Regions from separate parts of the Homo sapiens genome. Here all the other regions are linked to region 1. Evidence: promoter capture Hi-C in 16 types of primary human blood cells and fetal thymus (Javierre and others, 2016). All regions are on one chromosome and are shown on one strand. The core of a region is centred on a gene start or on the middle of the fragment in contact, and the rest is flanking DNA. Distances in the headings are between cores, read along the strand shown.

Evidence for each region. Contacts are between HindIII fragments. The CHiCAGO score rates a contact against its expected background, and 5 or more counts as called.
Region 2: the fragment with the promoter of MED22 here is called in contact with the fragment with the promoter of BRD3OS in region 1 in 1 of 17 cell types (fetal thymus); the score reaches 9.6 in fetal thymus.
Region 3: a contact is called between the fragment with the promoter of SURF4 here and the fragment with the promoter of BRD3OS in region 1, in 5 of 17 cell types (non-activated CD4 T cells, M1 macrophages, megakaryocytes and 2 more). The highest score is 13.2, in non-activated CD4 T cells.
Region 4: a contact is called between the fragment with the promoter of CACFD1 here and the fragment with the promoter of BRD3OS in region 1, in 1 of 17 cell types (naive CD8 T cells). The highest score is 5.5, in naive CD8 T cells.

What each region holds. Positions count from the first base shown.
Region 1 is chr9:134,024,058-134,027,007 of GRCh38, reverse strand. It overlaps BRD3OS (BRD3 opposite strand), which reads right to left and starts at 1,527. Exons shown (of 3, transcript NM_001355256.2): 1 at 1,472-1,527; 2 at 918-1,163; 3 at 1-800. The coding sequence starts at 260. The coding sequence ends at 6. RefSeq lists silencers at 1,234-1,653, 1,964-2,093. The HindIII fragment of the contact is 9,456 bases long and covers 1-2,950 here.
Region 2 is chr9:133,346,760-133,349,709 of GRCh38, reverse strand. It overlaps MED22 (mediator complex subunit 22), which reads left to right and starts at 1,579. Exons shown (of 5, transcript NM_133640.5): 1 at 1,579-1,788. It overlaps RPL7A (ribosomal protein L7a), which reads right to left and starts at 1,492. Exons shown (of 8, transcript NM_000972.3): 1 at 1,464-1,492; 2 at 668-788; 3 at 10-159. The coding sequence starts at 1,466. SNORD24 (small nucleolar RNA, C/D box 24) reads right to left here and starts at 314; the gene lies at 240-314. RefSeq lists enhancers at 1,071-1,540, 1,402-1,696. The HindIII fragment of the contact is 16,795 bases long and covers 1-2,950 here.
Region 3 is chr9:133,374,810-133,377,759 of GRCh38, reverse strand. SURF4 (surfeit 4) reads left to right here and starts at 1,700. Exons shown (of 6, transcript NM_033161.4): 1 at 1,700-1,838. The coding sequence starts at 1,791. It overlaps STKLD1 (serine/threonine kinase like domain containing 1), which reads right to left and starts at 1,394. Exons shown (of 18, transcript NM_153710.5): 1 at 1,200-1,394. The coding sequence starts at 1,286. RefSeq lists silencers at 1,156-1,655, 1,746-1,985, 1,996-2,275. The HindIII fragment of the contact is 2,219 bases long and covers 440-2,658 here.
Region 4 is chr9:133,458,515-133,461,464 of GRCh38, reverse strand. CACFD1 (calcium channel flower domain containing 1) reads right to left here and starts at 1,487. Exons shown (of 5, transcript NM_017586.5): 1 at 1,278-1,487. The coding sequence starts at 1,398. It overlaps ADAMTS13 (ADAM metallopeptidase with thrombospondin type 1 motif 13), which reads right to left. Exons shown (of 29, transcript NM_139027.6): 29 at 2,079-2,491. The coding sequence ends at 2,285. RefSeq lists silencers at 972-1,271, 1,562-1,661, 1,672-1,891. The HindIII fragment of the contact is 16,509 bases long and covers 1-2,950 here.

The DNA of each region.
Region 1 (2,950 bases), core at 278-2,777:
CGGAATTACATAATTGTGCAAAACTTGGACTGCCCTGTGTCCCTAGAGACCTCGAGCTTGTTTTTGTCTCGGACCAAGATGGCCTCATTTCCATACTGTGAGTACCACATGCTTCGGCTCCTGCTCAGGTACGTCCCAGGTGGCACCGACTCCAACTTCTGCTGTTGCTGCTGCCAGATGAGCAAGGAGGTGTCCCTGTACCGGAGGCGGGCGTAGCCTTCAGACAAGGCCTTCTCTGCCAGGGGGACACGGCCACTCATCCCCTCCCCCGTCCCGCTGGACTCCTGGGAACCCTGCTGTTCTGAGACGGCCCACGCGCACTAAATTAACGGACAGCTTTCCCAGCTTTGGGGCTTAAGGATCCCTCGTTTAACTGAATGGTAGAAATTAGGAATTCCGCCCATTTGCAGGCAACGTCCTCAGGAGGGTTGTGTGGTGAGGAAATGAGGCGGCCTCACCATTCTGAAGACACCTGAGACCCATTCAGGGGACCGCACACAGGTCAGAGCGGCGCCCGGCCACAGCTCTTCCGGGTGCAGCTGTGTGGAATTGACAGGGACGAGGCGTCACACCCTGGGGGGTGATTCTGCCACCATGGCCTGGACCACTGAGCTTGAAGAGATGGATCCAGTGCCCTGAGGAAGGGACATGGTGGCCCCAGACGCAAGCTGGAAGGAGCTCCGGTGGCACGCCCCGCACGCATCTGTCCGGGCCAGCTTTCAGGGCAACGGCTGTTCTGACCCACCCTGGGGATCCAGCCCCAGCGTTTGTTCAGGTCTCGTCTCTCCCCAAAGGTGCTGCTGCAAAGGAACGAACGTGCTGTCAGGAGAGGGGAAGTCAAGCGCCCCGGCAGCGGCGGCAGTCTGCAGCGCAGCATCAAGTCTCTGGGGGTCAGCGGCCTAGATCGAGCTACTTACGTCCCGTGGGGCAGCCTGGGAGCTGGGTGGAGAGTGAGACGGGCGCCCAGTGCCAGCTTTTTCAGTCACTGGGAGGTGCTGGGGAGGCTGCTTGTTGGGGCTTCAGGGTCTCCATCTGTGAAACAGGAGCCAGCGGCGCTTGAAAGGGCGCGGGTTCCCGGAGACGCCGCCAGGCGTCAGCCCCGGGACCGGAAGGGGCCCCCAGGGCCGCCTTGCTGCTCCGAGCATCCAGCTCCCGTGAGGCCCCTGGACCCAAACAAAAACGATGTCAGGAGAAAACAAACAGGGAAGCATCGCAACCCACTCCCGAACGCCTTCCCAGCTGCGCAGCGTCAGGGACCTCCCCTCCTGGGATGCCTGCGCTAGGTCAGCCTCAGCTTCCCGGGCCCCCATCGCGCGTCCCCGCCACCTGCGCGCACCCTGGGGTCCCCGTCGCGTGGCCCGCGGCCCCCATCCCCGCGCCCCAGACCCCGCGCGCTCTGGGTCGCCCCATCCTCCAGCCCCCTATCGTCTGCCCGCATCCCCGGGTCCCCCACGTCGCCCGCCCCAGTCACCGCTCGTCGCGGGCCTCGGAGATGCGGGCAGCGGCGCGACGCACTGCGGGGCTCCCAGGGCGGGGCCGGCGGCCGCTGGGCCGTGTCTCCATGGCAGCGCCGCAGGCCTGGCGAGCCGAGCGCAGAGGCTGGGCAGGCGTGTGCGACGAGCCCAAGCCATCGATCGCTCCGCGAGGAGGGGCTGGGCCCGCCCCGAATAGGAACTGGAAGAGGAGGAGGAGGGGCTGGAGGAGGAGGGGCTGGAGGAGGAGGGGCTGGAGGAGGAGGAGGGAGGAGGAGGAGGAGCTGGGAGAGGAGGGGCTGGGAGAGGAGAAAGGGCTGGATGAGGAGGAGGGGCTGGAGGAGGAGGAGGGGCTGGGAGAGGAGGAGCTGAACGAGAAGGAGGAGCAGAAGGAGGAGTGGAGGAGAAGGAGGAGCAGGAGGAGGAGCTGGGGGAGGAGGAGGAGCTGAGAGAGGAGGAGGAGATGGAGGAGGAGGGGCTGGATGGTGAGGGGCTGGGAAAGGAGGAGGGGCTGGGAGCGGAGGTGGGAGGAGGGGCTGGCAGAGGAGAAGGGGCTGAGGAGGTACTGGAAAAGAAAGAGGAGCAGGAGCTGGAGGAAGACGTGGAGGAGGAGCTGGAGGAGGATGAAGAGAAGGAGTGGGACGCCCACAACCCTGTTAGTAAGACACTGCCGGACTGTATGGTCTTATCATCTTGGTTTTCGTATTTCTGCTTGTGTGGTTACTTTTGCCACTGCTGTTACTGCTTTTATTAGTATTCTTACTCTCAGTAATTGATACAATTATTTTTAATTAATTAAATGTCCGGGCTTACTATCTCAAAAATAGGTCTTGAATTTCTCCATCTCATCCAACCAAGCCAGGCCTCTATACTGCTCATTTGGACTCCTCAACAGCCCCATGAAAGCAAGGTCTATTTCCTTTTCTCACTCCACCTCCAATCATACTCCAATAGCACTCTTTTAGTATCTACCCTTTTCCCCTAATTTTATGGTTTTCTCCAATGCCAATTAAGAAAACTAGCATAATGGAACCTGGTGTGGTGGCTCACCTCTGAGTCCCACCTACTTGGGAGGCTGAGGCAGGAGGATCCCTTGAGCCAGGAGTTCGAGGCTGCAGTGAGCCATAATCATGCCACTGCACTTCAGCTGGGACGAAACAGCAAAACCCCATCTCTAAAAAAAAAGAAAATAAGCATAACAGACATCCAAGGAAGATGCTTAGTGTGAGCACTAAGCCCACAGCTGTGGAACGCACATTCTTTTTTTTTTTTTTTTTGAAAGGGAATCTCACTCTGTCACCCAGGGTGGAGTGTGGTGGCACGATCTCAGCTCACTGCAACCTCCGCCCCCCAGGTTCAAGCGATTCTCCTGCCTCAGCCTCCTGAGTAGCTGGGACTACAGGCGCCGGCAACCACGCCCAGCTAATTTTTGTATTTTTAGTAGAGACAGGGTTTCACCATATTGGCCAGGCTGGTCT
Region 2 (2,950 bases), core at 330-2,829, 680 kb after region 1:
GAACCTCACCTGTTTGGCGGTCCAGGGCCTGGGTGAACTGGTTAATCGCAGGAGGCACTTTCAGCCGCTTATAGAGGATGGCTCTCTGCCGCTGCAACCTGATATAGCGGGGCCATTTCACAAAGCGGGTGAGGTCTCTTTTGGGCTGGATGTCCTGTCCTGAGAAGTAAAGGGTGACACCGAGTGAGGCTCAAATTCCATGTCAAGTTCATGTCTGGGGCCACTAGGAAGGGTGTTGGTGCATCAGCGATCTTGGTGGTTTAAAATGTCATCACCATCTCTCAGATAGCAAATATTCTTTTACATCATCTGCACACAAACACCTGAGAACAAAGAGCACGATGCTTTTCCTCATCTAACAAGAAGCCAAGGTGCCACGAAGTACAGCAGAATTGCAGTCCTAGTACCTCGCTGCGACACTGCTACTGTACTTGTTTCCAGATGGCTAAGCTGAATTCAAGGCCACTACCATATTGAGCTGAATGCTCGCTCAGCAACTCCCAATGAAAGCAAGAAGCATGTATCATTGCCCCCGTCTCTAAGAGACACAAATTAAGGACTGCGACCACTTTACACCCACTAAAACCTACAAGATACAACACAACCCAATTACCACCTTCCCTTGAGAAAAACATAGACCGTTTTCATTCTGCCGTTTGTTACTTACCAATGCCAAAATTCTTAGGCCTTTTCTCAAACAGGGGATTCACCACTTTCTTAGCCTCCTGCTTCTTCACGACAGCTGGGGCCGGAGCCACCTTCTTTCCCTTGGCCTTCTTTCCTTTCGGCTGGGCAGAAAGAAAACGTCAGTTAAACCGCCGCCTCCACTCGCTTCGTCGGGGGTAGGGCTCAGGCTGGCTCCTCCAAAACAAGGGACGCTGACAGCACCTGCCTGAACTAAGCTGGCGAGCAGCTTTCTGCAACCCCCCAGCACCACCCCTCGACAGGAGCATCTCACATTCAGCCGCACAAGCATGCAGCCCCGGGAACCCCGAGTGGCCAGAGCAAGGCTAAGCCCGAGACCACGCTCTCTTCGCGTCGCCCACCCAGGAGACACCCCGGACTCATGACTCCTCTGAGTCGCGGCCCCACAGGCTCTAGAAGCAACAGGGGCGGGCTCAGAACTCGTCGCTCACAAGGCCTCTGGAGCGGCCCCCAGCAAGCCCGAGAGACGCTAGGGCTCCGAGCCCCGCACTGCGGTGCTCCAGGCCTGCGACACCCAGCCCTGCGACACCGGGAACAACGCATTCCGCTCTCGGCCGCCCGGGGCTCTAGTCCATCTCAATGTCTCCGTGCCACACCAAGTGGGGCTCTAATCCACCTCGGTGTCTCCGTGCCACACCGAGTGGGGCTCTCCTAGCGCCAGGAGGAGCAGGAGGCCCTCCGAGGCCGCGCCTGGAGGAGGATGGCAGCGGATACAGCCGGAACCTGGCTATAGTGCCACGGAACTACAGCTCACTCACCATCTTGGGCGGCGGGAGGAGAGAGAAAGGAAAGGGAATTGTGGGTAATATGTATGCGGCCTCGGAGATCGCGAGAGTTGATACCGGCACGGGATTTCGGATTTAAAGCAACAGCATTCCTATAAAGCTAAAAATCGAGGCGGGGCCGAGAGGCTGCGGCGGCTGACTAGGTTTTCGGACCGCGGCGCGGCGGGGAAGAGAGACTGCGGCGGGAGGGCCAGGCCGTGGGAGAGACGCGGGAAAGTGCGGGTCGCAGAGGCACTTGACCACCCCGCCCTAGGCCGACCCGGCGGACGCGGCGTCTGGTGTGCGGGCGCTGGGGCGGGTATGAGGGTGTGGTGGGGGGTGGGGATGGAGGGGGGGTGGGTGTGTGGGCGGGAGTGGGGGTGGGTGGGTGCGTAGGCGCTGGGGTCGGAGATCCCCTTTCCTGCGTGTGACTTATTTCCCACACCCCGCCAAAAATGGGCACAAACAATGCGAGTGCGTCCAGGAGTCCGCTCGGTCGTGCGCCAGACTCCGAACCTAGGGGGCCCCGGGCCCTCCCTGAGCACCGCGCGCAAAGGCCCGGCCCCAGGGCCAGGCAACTCCAGCGCCGAGGCCGTCCAGTGCGGCTGGAGGGCAGAGGCCGAGAGGCGCGGCGCGGAACTTGAGCCCCTTGTCCCGGCGCACCGGGGAACCATGAGGGATGTTAAGCGAGGGAGTGGAATTACCCCCCTTTTTTTTTTCTTTTGGAGACGTAGTCTCCCCCTGTCGCCCAGGCTGGAGTGCAGTGGCGCGATCTCGGCTCACTGCGACCTGTGCTTCCCGGGTTCAAGCGATTCTCCTGCCTCAGCCTCCCGAGTAGCTGGGATTACAGGCGCCTGCCATCACGCCCGGCTAATTTTTGTATTTTTAGTAGAGTTGGGGTTTCACCATGTTGGTCAGGCTAGTCTCAAACTCCTGACCTCAGGTGATCCCTGCCTCGGCCTCCCAAAGTGCTGGGATTACAGGCGTGAGCCACCGCGCCCGGTTGGAATGACCACTTTTTAGGACCTCTTCCCTGCCGCGCAGAGACTGGAGGGAGCGGGGCCCGCAGTGCAGGGATGAGGTCTGGAGCGGGGCAGCCTGAGTGGGAGTGGAAGGAAAGCGTGGATGTAGGCGGTGCAGAGGGGTCGAATTGGAAGGACTCTTCGGATGGGAGGGCGTGGCGAAGGTGGCGGCGGGCTAAGAAGTTAAGCCAAGGGCTGGGGACGGGGAGCTGGTGTTGAGTTTGCAGGGCTCCCTGGGACACGCTGTGGGCCTGGACGTGAAGTCTGGACTGGAGCCCTGGACAGGGCTTGGAGGGCTGGCCAGGAGTTCCAGGATGAGCTTGCTCTGGCAAAGGCGGGGCCAGTCCTGGCACCCCCTGCGGTGTCTGCTGATGGAATGAGTTCATCTGTGTTTCAGTGATTGACTTTATTTGGCAGAAAGGGAATCCCCAGAAATCTGCGTGTTCTGCTAAGGTTGGG
Region 3 (2,950 bases), core at 451-2,950, 650 kb after region 1:
CCATCCTCCCGCCTCCATCTGTGGAAAAATTGTCTTCCACAAAACTGGTCCCTTGTGCCAAAAAGGTTGGGGACTGCTATTTTTTTTTTTCTTTCTGAGACAGAGTTTTGCTCTTGTTGCCCAGGCTGGAGTCCAATGGCGCTATCTTGGCTCACCACAACCTCTGCCTCCTGGGTTCAAGCGATTCTCCAGCCTCAGCCTCCCGAGTAGCTGTGATTACAGGCATGCGCCACCACACCTGGCTAATTTTGTATTTTTAGTAGAGACAGTTTCTCCATGTTGGTCAGGCTGGTCTTGAACTCCCGATCTCAGGTGATCCGCCCGCCTTGGCCTCCCAAAGTGTTGGGGATTACAGGCGTGAGCCACCGAGCCCGGCCAGGGACTGCTGTTCTAAGCCACAGCGGGCTGAGGGCAGAGCTGGTGTGAGAGCGTTCAAGCTTAGGCAGCAAATTAAACAGTAAAATGGAGCCGTATCTCGAATCAAGTCTATTTTTTTTTCCAAAAGCAGGTATATTCCTGAAACGTCTATTTTTTTTTAATCTGAAAAACAACTTTACTTTAAAAATTATCTGGCCACCAGAAGCTCATCTGCTTCACCTCTGGCAACGCCCTATAGTCCTCTCACACAAAGACAATTCTTCCAAAGTGACAAAAATCTAACCCGCAAACTGTTTCCAAGCGAATGCATTTTTCACAAATGCTGAATCTAACATTTAATAAAGTGTATATATCATGTATAGAAGCATTTAATTAAACATTTACTTTTATTTTGCAGCTTTCCTTTTGTGTTTTGTGAATTTTTTAGGTCTCAAACATTTTCACAGACCCACGCTGCAGGGGTGTTTTTAGGGGACTGGGGGCTCCCAATTATGTACTCGGGATGTTCCCGGGGGTCCTGCCTCGGTGGACCCAAGCGCACAGACCCCAGGCACGAAGGATAGAGGAGCTGCCCCACGCCCTCAAATACTCAGCCAGGGCTGGAGAATCCTTAGTCAATTCACAAAGGGGGAAACTGAGTGGCAAAGGGCACCCAGGAGGTCACCGTTGGAGGCCCCCCGGGTTCAACCTAGGAGCTGCAGGCCGACACTGGCCAGGGCGCGGGCCCCTCGCCGCCCTCGGTCGGAACCGCCGGCCGTAGCTCCAGGGTTGCGACCGTTACCCCACGGAGCTCCCGCCTCCCCGCAGGGAACACTCGGCACCTGGTACTTCTCCATGGGCTCTCCGGGGGACCCTGGGCCTCGCTCCCCCTGCGTGGGGCGCCTGCGATTGGACCCTGGCCCAAGCATGATCAGTAGCGACCGCGTACGGGCGAGCGTCCACCCCTGGCCCCACCCCGCGTGGGTCAGTGGGACCCGCGGGATCCTCCCCGCCCGAACGGCGCCCTCGAGGCACTCAGGCGTCCCTCCCGCGCGCTGGCCCCAGACCCCCAGGTCCCCGCCCCCTTAAAAGGGACGCGTTCCGCCGGGCCGGGAGGGACCGCAGGGCCTGCGCGCGGCGGGCGGGGCCTCCAGCGTGAGAGGCGTGGCGTCGAGCGCGGCGGGCGTGGCTTCGAGCGGATGGGTCGGGAGGCTGGGGATGGCGCGTGGCCCCTTTAAGACGCACCGGGGCGGGCCCGGGCGGCGCGCGGCCCCTTTAAGGCTTGGCCTACGTGGCAGCCGCTGGAGCCGCAGCCGACGCGGAGCGAGGCCGGCCGCCGGGCACTTCCTGTGGAGGCCGCAGCGGGTGCGGGCGCCGACGGGCGAGAGCCAGCGAGCGAGCGAGCGAGCCGAGCCGAGCCTCCCGCCGTCGCCATGGGCCAGAACGACCTGATGGGCACGGCCGAGGACTTCGCCGACCAGGTGCGGCCTGCGGGCTCCTCCCCCGGCCCCGGTCCCGACCCAGGCCGCCCGGGCCGCTCCGGAGTCGGCCTCCCAGCGCAGGGCGCCAGGCCCGGGCCGCCCCCTGACTCCTTGTTCCCACAGGGGGACCCCCCCGCCCGGGCCCTCTGTCCCGGCTGGACAGCCCCAAACCCGGCCTCCGGGCCCAGTCTCCCCTGCCCGCTGGGCCGCTCCCGGAGCCCGGGCCTCGGCGCCCTGCCTGGCTAGCCGCCCCCACCCTCCAGCCAGCCCGGGGCGCGGGCTGTGGGGGTTTCTTCCCGGGCCGGCGGCGCGAGTCCTGGCGTTGGGTCGGGTCTGAGGCTCGCGGGGAGCGCCTCGGCGTTTGGAGCTGCTGGGGGGTCCCCGCACGTTTTTCCTCTCACTGGGGCTCCCGGAGGCGGGCTGGGAGCTCGGGGACGAACGGGGGCCGGGGGTCCTCCCAGAGGAAAGGGGGCGCGCTGGCGTGCGCCCCAGCTACAGGAAGCCACAGCACCTTTTCCTTTTCTCTTTCCCAGATGTGCTGGACTCTTGGGGTCCCTTTGACCCTGTCTGCGTCTCCCTCCCCGTTTGGACTCTGCCCTGGGCTGGATTGAGTGGGGACCTGTACACAGCCTGGGAGGAGGGGAAGCCTATCTCCCTGATAGTCTCCTTCCAGAAGTGTCCAGGTGGCATTCTGAGCAACAGGGAAGCCTTTGAAACAGGCGGTTGGGTAACTGTTGAGAGCATTCGGGAACTGGGTGGACAGGATCCGATCCTACAAAGTGAAGGGACACAACTCCCTTCCCTCTTTCTTGATTAAGCTTGACAGAACAAAAAAACAAAAACAAAAGGTGGTGGTGGTTACGCAGATTTATGCCTTTTACTTCTAAAAGAATCCCGTTATGTCGACAAATTAACAGCCTTATCCCCGCAGGGAGAGCCTTGTGTGGCCCACTTGCCGTTTTTTCCTCGGTTTACTTAATGTGTTCGTGTGGCTTTGCTAGAGTTTTAAGTAGTGATGGTTAAATTTTTAAATTTTTCTGGAGGTGGTAGTGAGTCATCAAACTCTGAGGCCTAGACTTATCGGAAGGCTTGTATATGTGTGGTTTAAAAAA
Region 4 (2,950 bases), core at 238-2,737, 570 kb after region 1:
TCCAATGCCTAACTTCAAACCCACCAGTCTCTCCTACAAAGTCAAAAGCGTACTTGCCCTGAAGAGCAGTGACACAAACTCGGGGCCTTTTTGTGATTTGGGGGTAGGGCCTGCCCTACCGTATCCGTTGCCTCTGGATAAGGGCATGCCTAGCGAGGGCAGCACACTCCTAGCCCAGCACCCTCCTGCCTCAACCTCCCTCCACCCTCTACCCACCTGGAAAGGCTGTGGAACCCAAGGTGACCCTGAAAAGGTGGTCCTTCTGGCAGGATTGCTGATGGGGCCTGCCCTGCCCAGGCCCAGAGCTAGCCCTCTCTGCCAGGCAGGCACTGTTTAAAACCTGCAGACATCCTCGACAGACATTCTCTAAGACCTTGCCCACTCCAGTAATCCACAAGATTGAGGGCAGACAGGAAAGGAAAGGGTATCACTCAGACAGACTTGTCTTTCCCTGGAAGGCCAGCTGTACGGCTTCCATTCACTCCTGGAGCTGACCTGCCTCCCTCTTTGTCCTTTTCTGGCTGTGCTTAAGAGCCTAGCTTCCCTGGCAGCCTAAGGTCAGGGTCTGTGACTGGGATGCGTGCGGAGAAGGGGAGGAAGGCCGGTGACAGGCGGCTAAGGCAGCAGCAACGGGGGAGATATGAGAGCGGACAGAGGACCCAGGGAGAGGCCGGGCCCTCAGCTCACTGCCCCGCGGCCCCAGGGGCCACCTGTGCCCTGACACCACCTGACCCTCAGCAAACTTCCGCCCAGTGGCTTCCTGCCAGAAATCTAGCCAGCCGTGCACCCGCCTCCCTTACAAACAATCCTTGCCCAAAGGTTAGCAATGTGGCTGCCGTCACCTACGCCCAAGTCAACAGTTGACGCTTTAGTACGGGCCAGGTGGGCATGCGCCCCGTGAGCATCACCGAGAAAGTCTCACAAAAGCCCCTGGGGAGCGGGGGGAGGGCTCAGTCACGTGCCCCAGGCCGGTGCCCCACCCCCGCCCCCGCCGCCCCCCCGCCCTGGGGTTTCTGGTCCCTCCGGGAATGTTCCCAGAAGCGCCAGCCCAGCCCAGCCCGGGGTACCAAGGCGCCCAGGCCCGAGCGGGTAACCATGGCAACCCCAGGACGCCGGCTCCCGGCGGCCCCGCCATTCCTCCGCCCCGGGAGGCGCCCGGCAGACCCCCGACCCCCAGCGGGTCCTTTCCCCTGGGGCCGCCGGGGCGGGGCGGGGCAGGGCAGGGCGAGGAGCGCATGCGCGGCGGGGCCGGCCCCTCTCCCCGACTGGATACTCACAGACTGCCCCCAGCACCCCAGACAGGCGACACAGCCAGCGGTACCACCACGTCATGCCCTCTTCCTGCGCGGGCGGCGCAGAGCTGGCGGACGCCCCGGGCGCCCCACCTGAGCTGCTCATGGTGCCACCGTCAGGCGCAGCTCACAGCCCTCACAAAGGGCTCGGTAGCCGGCCGCGTCCGAGCCGGCGCGCTGCCTTGTGGGAGAGGGAGCATATTAGCATAGGGGGCGGGGCTTTCAGGCTGCGGCGAGGCGCGCCCGAAGGGAGGCGGGTGCTCATTAACATAGTGAGCGGGACCCTCATGCCGCGACTAGGGGCGTTTGAGGGGAGGTAGGTGCTCATTATTGTAGGGGGCGGGACCCGCAGGCTGCGGCGAGGAGCTGGGGGTGGGGAGCTCGTTAGCATACGGGGCGGGGCTCGCAGGCATCGGAGAGGTGTGCCCGAGGGGGGCGGGCGTCATTAGCGTAGGGGGCGGGGGCTCGCAGTTTGCGGCGACTTGCTCCCAAAGGAGGCGGGCGCTTATTAGCATAGGGGGCGGGGCCTGGAGGCGCGCAGACACCTTAGCGGTCAGAGCCTCACACCAGGACACACGGGTGGGGCTTCGCAGGGAGCTGGCTAATGCGCCATCCTCGGAGTGGAATCCTGATTGGATTTTCTTCCTGGATAGGAAGAAGATAACTAGGGACGTCCAGCGGCTTGCTCAGATCAAGATAGAGCCAACCGCGGCCAGCGAATCCCTGCCTTGCCATGGGATGGGTTTTCAAGCCAGGTCTGGACAGCTTATAAGAAAAAAACGCCGGTCAGCCTGCATGTTTTATTTATTGGTACCCGAGGAAATGGGGGCTGCTTTTCCAGAGTCCCCACCTCCAACCCCCTAGCCTTTTGGACATTGGAGAAGACTCTAAAGTAGATACCTAAGATTGGAAAAAGTTCGAATTGGAAAGCACTGAGACCAGGGGTCAACCCTCCAGGGCTGGCCAGACACGGAACAAATGTTCAATGACCCTCAGGTTCCTTCCTTTCCCTTCCAGGACTGAGGGTCCTGCATCTCCGGTACCCATGATTGGAGGGTCCAGTACTGGCCCCGCAGGCTGGCCTGAGCCTTCAGGAAGCCCTCGCTGAACTCCATCTCAGCCTGGCTGCTCTCTGACTCCCAGTAGAGCACCTGCTGCCCATGGAACGCTGTGGTCCTCAAGCTGTGGGTGTCCCGGATCTGAGAGAAAAGGGGCAGCCCAGAAGGACCGGCCACAAGTAATAATTAGCACTCACGGAAGCCTTCGTGTGCAAGGGCTCACAGATTCCGGATCACATTTAATGCTTACAAAGCCCTACTAGGAATACGCCATTACTCTACCCAGAAAACCGAGGTCCAGGGACGTTACATCACTTCCCCAAGGACACACAGTCAGGGTGCCAGAGCGGGGCCAGGCTGCCTCCTCTGGGGAAGCTGATACCCTGCAGAACACAGTTCTCCCAGGACACTTGAAACCTCGGGGAGGGTGCAGGGTGCTATTCTGTCCAAGTTATATCAGACTGTAAAATTATGCTTCAGTCTTGGGTTAGCTGTCAGTCTACATCAGAAAGGTCTTTACCATTCTTTACCATTTCGCTTTTTTTTTTTTTTTTTTTTTGAGACAGAGTCTCACTCTGTTGCCCAGGCTGGAGTGCAGTG